2 separate regions of the Homo sapiens genome follow, and region 2 is linked to region 1. The links are contacts of gene promoters, found by promoter capture Hi-C in blood cells and fetal thymus (Javierre and others, 2016). All regions are on one chromosome and are shown on one strand. Each heading gives the region's core, a stretch centred on a gene start or on the middle of the fragment in contact. The rest is flanking DNA. Distances are from core to core; before and after follow the strand shown.

Evidence for each region. The method cuts DNA at HindIII sites, captures the fragments that hold promoters and counts their contacts. A CHiCAGO score of 5 or more calls a contact.
Region 2: a fragment that was not itself captured here is called in contact with the fragment with the promoter of LSR in region 1 in 1 of 17 cell types (naive B cells); the score reaches 5.3 in naive B cells.

Annotation. Positions count from the first base shown.
Region 1 is chr19:35,246,835-35,250,279 of GRCh38, reverse strand. LSR (lipolysis stimulated lipoprotein receptor) reads right to left here and starts at 1,278. Exons shown (of 10, transcript NM_205834.4): 1 at 1,149-1,278. The coding sequence starts at 1,257. RefSeq lists silencers at 1,115-1,184, 1,595-1,674 and enhancers at 787-1,588, 1,589-2,391, 2,525-2,694. The HindIII fragment of the contact is 9,039 bases long and covers 1-3,445 here.
Region 2 is chr19:35,605,456-35,609,433 of GRCh38, reverse strand. It overlaps HAUS5-DT (HAUS5 divergent transcript), which reads left to right. Exons shown (of 2, transcript NR_186318.1): 2 at 631-1,045. Among named protein-coding and RNA genes, the nearest start is that of HAUS5-DT, 5.2 kb to the left of the region's middle. The HindIII fragment of the contact is 3,634 bases long and covers 677-3,978 here.

The sequences.
Region 1 (3,445 bases), core at 29-2,528:
GAGCTCAGGGAGGTGCTTCAACAGGAACGCCACCTGTCACCAGCTTGACACTCGCAAGTATGTGGTTTACAGAGTGCCTGGCACACATTGTTCCTTAATTGCCAGGACCAGTGAGGTAGCCACGATAATCATGCCCATTTTATAGACCCGTGGGGCTGAAGTGGCAGGTGCACGGTGACACGGCCAGTTTCCTTGGACTCGCCCGCCATCCCTCTTCCCAGCCTGTGGCCTCTGAACCACACCAGTCCCCTCTTCCCTTTGCCATTCACCCACAACAAGGGGCCTCTGTGTGGCCTGGGCAGGCAAGCCCAGATGGCCATGTTGATGCCCCCAGCGCCCAAGGCCCCACTTCAAAACCGACTACGAAGGATTCCAGGTTACCCGGGGCCTTTTGAATTTGGAGGGAAAACCATGGAGTTGTTTGCCTGAACTGCTTTGCCATGGAGGGACTAAAGCCCCCACAATATCTCCATCAGCCTCCCACCACCTCACCCTACTCTAAAGTCATTTCAAATGACTGAACCAAAAGTGTCTCGGGAAAGACCTCATCACCACCCAAATATCCCATCCAGGTGAAAGCCTGCCAGCAGAAGTCGGTTTCAAGTCCGTAAATCCATCCCACCAGACTCTTACGCACGTATAATCCGGAGCCCGCGGGAGGTGGGTGGGGTGCGGGGGATGGGGAGTCCCCAGTCCCACACCCACCCGAGGCCTAGGCATTGTTCCTTCGTCTCTGTCCCTCTAGGAAGCGTCTGATCCAGCCCTCCCGTGCCCTCTCCCCGTTACTCCAAAACTTAGAAATCCCCGGGTGCGCCCAAGTCCCATCCCGGCTTTTCTTTTCCCAGAGATCGGGCGGTCTTCCACTCCCTCCCCACAAAGAGTTCCATTCTCCCTGCCGCTCCGGGTCTCACCGTCCAGGGAGTTTCACTTCCTGCTATCTTCCAGATAAGGGCGCGGGGAGCGCTCCCCGGCACAAATGGGGAATTCCTCTCACTCCCGCGCGCAACAGATCGCCCAAGACCCAGGGGATCGGAAGGTCCCAGCCTCTGAGACCCCCGCTTCCCGCTTCCCGCCGCCTCCAACTCCATCCATCCCCCTCTACAGTTCCCTCCGGCGTTCCGCAGCGTCAGAGGCCCCGTGCCCCGTACCTGTGCACCAGGTGCTAAGCAGAAGCCACACGAAGACGACCGCGTCCCGGCCTGCGGCGGCCGGGTGGGAGCCCAGCCCTCTGGAGAGCCCGCCGGCCAACAGCGCCATCGCGGCCGTCTGGGCGCGTCTGGCCCGCGCGTCCCTTCCAAAGTACCTTAGGGGGCGCGGCGCGCACCAAGGCCAGGAGGGGTGCACGCTCCTCCCCTTCCCACTTCCGTTCCTTGTCCCTACTCCAAGTCCGTCCTGTTGCATTCTGGAAGTTTTAATGAGCGTAAACGACGTGGACAAAGGGCATGCTTTCAGATATGGGGGAGAAAGGTGCTTGACCCGCCGCGGTCCTCCGAGCCACACTCCACCCGCTGCGCGCTCCGGTGAATGGTTCGGCCCAGGTACACAAGGGTGGGAGCCGAGGGCTGGGCTTAGGGGTGAGCGGCGGGGAGGGGTTCCTCTGCCTCCCTCCCCGGAAGTGGGCTGACCCAGGTGCGCTCCGTCCCCCAGGGCCCGAACCAAGTGACTGGCCCGCTGGGAGGGCGCCTGCGGACCACAGGTCCCTTCCGGCCCCCATCTGCTCCGGCCAAACCAAGCGCACCGAGATCCATGCAACCGAGACCCACTTGGAGCGATTCACCTGTTGAGATAGGGCGGGTCCCGCCGCGCACCTGTTCCCTCCCTGCCCAAACCCCTCTCCCCGGCTGGCGATGGACCCGCCTAGGTGCGCCCTGCCGGGAGGAGCGAGTCTAAGCAAAGTCCTGGCTGGGAGAGGCTTGTTGGTGGCGCCTGACTTCTCCACTTCCACTGGGGTTCCTCCGGACCGGGTGGAGGGGGGGCGCTTCGGGCCTCCTGTGTCTCCCAGTTAGATGACCTGAGGAACCCTCTAAAGTCCCCGGAAGGGAAGCTCTGCCCCCTCAGGGATGCCCAAGGGGAATCAGGGCCAGGAAAAGTTGGAATTCCACTTCGGAAGTTTTCGCCACCTCCCCCACCCGTTCCCAACTTGTGGTTCGGCCCCTGGGCATCCCTAGCCCCCGGGTCAGCCCTCCGGAAATTCTGGCTCTTAAAGGGGCCGAGCGAAGGCGCGGGGCTTGGGACCGGTTTCCGCTTAGGAATTCCCGGAACGAGCCACCTGCGACCGAGGGCGGGGGCGCGGCGCGGCGATCAGCCTGCGCAGCGCTGGGCGTGACTCTGCTGTCTCCAGGTGGCGGCGAGGGAAAGCGCATCCTGGGGGAACCCTGGGCGCTTCCTCGCGTTAGACTCCCCCAGGTTGCCAACTGGCCAGTGGCTGGTTTCGGTACCCAGGCGTGCTTTGTTCTACTGGCCCTGTTAAAACTCAAGCCAGATCACGTCCACCTGCTCACAGCCCTCCTGTGGCTCCTCCTCACTCTCAGCAGAAACTGACCTTCCCCCTCTTATCTCACCTCCTCCCACTCTCTCTGGCTTACTCAGCTTCGGACACCCTGGCCTCCTCGCTGTTTCCAACTATACTTCTCACAGTCCTCAGAGCCATCGCCCGTGCTACTCCCTCTGCCAGAACACCCTTCCCGCAGATGTCCACATGATCTTCCTCCTCCTGTAGGACACCATTGCAGTGACACCTTCCCTGGCCACTTTTTATAAAATTTCAACCCGTTCACGTCCCTTCATCGTTTAAAAAAATATTTTTATGATAAAATATGCAAACTATAATATTTATCGCTTTAACCACTTCAAGTGTAAAATTCAGTGGCATTAAGTATATTCACAATGTCGTGTACCAATCACCACTCTTTATCCCCGAAACTGTTTCATCATCCCCAACATAAACTCTGTGACCATTAAACAGTAACTCCCCATTCCCTGCTACCTGTGCCCCTAGTAATTTCTATTCTACTTTGCTTACCAAATTGCCCATTCTAGGTGCCTCATATAAGTGGAATCGTCTAACATTTGTCCTGTGTCTAGTTTATTTCACAAAGAATAATGTTTTCAAGGTCCATCCATGTTGTAGTATGTCGAAGCCATGTAGCATGCAGTAAGATCAAAATTTCTTTTTACAGCGGACTAGTGTACCATTGTATGTATATGCTACGTTTTATTTATCCATTCATTTGTGGATGGACCTAGGTTGTTTCTACCTTTTGACTATTGTAAATAGTGCAGCTGTGAACACTGGTGTACAAATATCTGCTTTCATTTCTTTTGAATATATGCCTAAGAATGGAATTGCTGGGTGACTTGGTAGTTCTATTTTTAACCTTTTGAGGAACTGCCAAACTGTTTTCCCCAATGACTGCACTATTGTACATTCCCACCAGCAATGCAC
Region 2 (3,978 bases), core at 1,244-3,743, 360 kb before region 1:
CTCCTGGCCTCAAGCAGTCCTCTCACCTTGGCCTCCCAAAGCACTGAGATTACAGGCATGAGCCATTATACCTGGCCACTTTCTGCTTTTATTTATTTATTTTTTTTGTGACAGAGTCTCCCTCTGTCGCCCAGGCTGGAGTGCAGTGGCACAATCTCGGCTCACTGCAACCTCTACCTCTTGGGTTCAAGCAATTCTCTGCCTCAGCCTCCCAAGTAGCTAGGATTACAGGCATGCACCATCATACCCGGCTAATTTTTGTATTTTTAGTAGAGACGGGGTTTCACCATGTTGGCCAGGCTGGTCTCAAACTCCTGACCTCAAGTGATCCACTTGCCTCAGCCTCCCAAAGTGCTGGGATTACAGGTGTGAGCCACTGCACCTGGCCTCACTTTCTGCTTCTTATGCTCAATGTCTCCTTGTTTTGGAGACATGTCACCATTTGTCCTTTTCTTGGTTCCTTTCTCATGGTATCTGTTCTGTTGGCCTTGGTGGGAGGTACTGGTGCCTTCCTGCTTTCTTAGATCCTGAAGGAGCAGAGCCCCTGTGGCCTCTTGGTCTTCTTCTGTCAGCATCTCTCTCCCTTTGCTTTATCTGAAATCTCTTTTCTGTTTTTCTGGATAATTTCAGGATGCTTTTTGGAACCCATCCACCATCTGAGAGATAATAAGAAGCTTCTCTAGGACTTGTGATTTTGGTTTCAGCAGCTCCTTCCACGTTTGAGAAGAGTCTTCTCATTTCTTACTCATAGAACATCCCATCAGACATTTCTCCTGATCCACATAGTAATTCAGGGATCCAGGCTTCTTCCATAAGGTGATTCAACCATCTTCTATGGGCTCAGAGTCTTTTGAATCCAGGCAGAAGAGAGAATAAGGAACTCGCACCTGCTTCTTGAAAGTCTTCACCCTAAAGTGACATACATCACTTCTGCTCTCAGTCCATTGAACATAACTTGTCTTATGGCTTCAACTAGCTGCAAGGGCCTCTGGGAAATGTAGTCCTGGTCTAGGCAGTCAATAAACATCCTGCTGGCTCTGCCACAGAAGGCCTTTCTAAGATGTTCTTTGAGCTGAGACGTGAGAGCCAAAGTGTGAGAGCTACTTGAAAACTGTGAAAATGGAGTTCCCAAAGTGGGAACAGCAAGTGGAAAGACCCTGATGCTGGAATGTGCTCAAAGGAACAGTAAGAAATGAGCTTCTGGCTGGGCGTGATGGCTCATGCCTGTAATCCCAGCACTTTGGGAGGCTGAGGCAGGTGGATCACCTGAGGTTAGGAGTTTGAGACTAGCCTGACCAACATGGAGAAACCCCGTCTCTACTAAAAATACAAAAAAATCAGCCGGGTGTGGTGGTGCATGCCTGTAATCTCAGCTACTTGGGAGGCTGGGGCAGGAGAATCGCTTGAACCCAGGGGGCAGAGGTTGTTGTGAGCTGAGATCGTGCCATTGCACTCCAGCCTGGGCAACAAAAGTGAAACTCCGTCTCAAAAAAAAAAAAAAAAAGAACTTTTATTTTGTGAGCTACTGAAATGGTGGGGTTTATTTGTTATAGCAGCTAGCATGACTCTAAATAATATACCTTGTAGACATCATTGCCCACTAGCTCAGTGTATCTCAAACTACTTGTAACTATGGAGAAGGATCATTTGTTTGATGTTTCCAACCTGTCATGGACCAATCCTTTTGGTCTCTACCCTGTTCAACAAGAAAATCCATTGATCCTATACTTGGATGTCATGGATATGTCAAATTGCTGTGTTTCTAAACACTTGCTGGCAATTTCCGTACTTATCTGGTGGCACACCATTGCAGACACCAGCTCGGTTGGGGAGACCCTAACCCACTGGTGCTAGAGGAATTAAACACACACACACAGAAATATAGAGGTGTGAAGTGGGAAATCAGGGGTCTCACAGCCTTCAGAGCTGAGAGCCCCGAACAGAGATTTACCCACATATTTAGTAACAGCAAACCAGTCATTAGCATTGTTTCTATAGATATTAAATTAAAAGTATCCCTTATGGGAAACGAAGGGATGGGCCGAATTAAAGGAATAGGTTGGGCTAGTTAACTGCAGCAGGAACACGTCCTTAAGACACACATCGCTCATGCTATTGTTTGTGGCTTAAGAATGCCTTTAAGTGGTTTTCCACTCTGGGCGGGCCAGGTGTTCCTTGCCCTCATTCCCGTAAACCCACAACCTTCCAGCTTGGGCGTTAGGGCCATTATGAACATGTCACAGTGCTGTGGAGATTTTGTTTGTGGCCAGTCTTGGGGTCAGTTTATGGCCATATTTTGGGGGGCTTGCTCCCAACACCATAATAGTTGCTGGACCAGTCCTGGCACCACTTTAGCTTCTTATTCTGTTTTATTTTTCTCTATAGCATTTACCATTCCCTGTAATTATCTTGTTTATTTTTGGGTATACTTGTTTATAGTTTTCTTTCCCACTAGAATGTAAGCTCCATCAGAGAAGAAGTTGGCCTTACTTCTCTTGCTCCGTTGTGTTCCTCGTTCCCAAGACAATGCCTGGGACACAGTAGGTGCTCAGAAAGTATTTGTTAAATAATGAGTATTTGTTAAATAAAAATCATGGCTGGGAACAGTGGCTCACGCCTATAATCCCAGCACTTTGGGAGGCCAAGGCAGACAGATTGGTTGAGCTCAGGAGTTTGAGACCAGTCTGGGCAGCATGGCAAAACCCTGTCTCTACAAAAAATATAAAAATTTGCTGGGCATGGTGGCATGCACCTGTAGTCCTAGCTACTCAGGAGGCTGAGGCATGAGAATCACTTGAACCTGGGAGCCAGAAGTTGCAGTGAGCTGAGATTGTGCCACTGCATTCCAGTCTGGGTGACATAGTGTGACCCTGTCTCAAAAAAAAATTTAATAAAATGAAATAAAAATAACAAGGAGGGTGGGGGGAAGGAGGCAATCCATATCTGTTACAGAGGCTCTCTACAATCAGAACCTGACCAGAACTCTAACCAGTTTGTTAACAGCCATTGAGATCCCCTCAAGAGCTGTGGTTTTTTGATAGACCATGGTAGCTCAGATTAGATGTCAACTGAAGAATCATGAGGTTTTGATATGGTTTGGCTGTCCCCACCCAAATCTCATCTTGAATTGTAGTTCCCCAAATCCCCATGTGTTGTGGGAGGGACCTAGTGGGAGGTAATCGAATCATGGGGGTGGTTACCCCCATGCTGCTGTTCTTGAGATAGTGAGTTCTCACGAGATCTGATGGTTTTATAAGGGGCTTTTCCCTCTTTGCTTGGCACTTCTCCTTCCTGCTGCCATCTGAGGAAGGACGTTTTTGCTTTCTTTTCCACCATGATTTTAAGTTCCCTGAGGCCTCCCCAACCCTGCGGAACTGTGAGTCAATTAAACCTCTTTCCTTTATAAATTACCCAGTCTTGGGCAGTTCTTTTCAGCAGCGTGAGAACAGACTAATACAGGTTTACAAATTTGGAAAGGAGAGCTTTATTTCTCATAAAGAGTTGCAGCCTGCAGCCGGGCCATCTCACAGGCCGAGAAGTGTAGCCTCCGGTAGAAGCTGAGAGCAGGCACCTCCAGTAAGGGAAGGATAAGGTCAGAGTTAACGCTGAATGGCTTGGCTCAGTATACATATTCAACAGGTTATAGGAGGAGCTATGAATATTCATGAAGGGAAGGTACAGCACATGTGTAGTAACATCCCATATTCACTTTTTTTTTTTTTTTTTTTTTTTTTTGAGATGGAGTCTTACTCTGTCACCCAGGCTGTAGTGTAGTGGTGCGATCTCAGCTCACTGCAACCTCTCTTTCCCAGGGTTCAAGCAATTCTCCTGCCTCAGCCTCATGAGTAGCTGGGATTACAGGCACCCATCACCATGCCTGGCTAATTTTTTTATTTTTAGTAGAGACAGGGTTTCACCATGTTGGCCAGGCTGGTCTCAAACTCCTGACCTCAGGTGATCCGCCCACCTTGGCCTCCC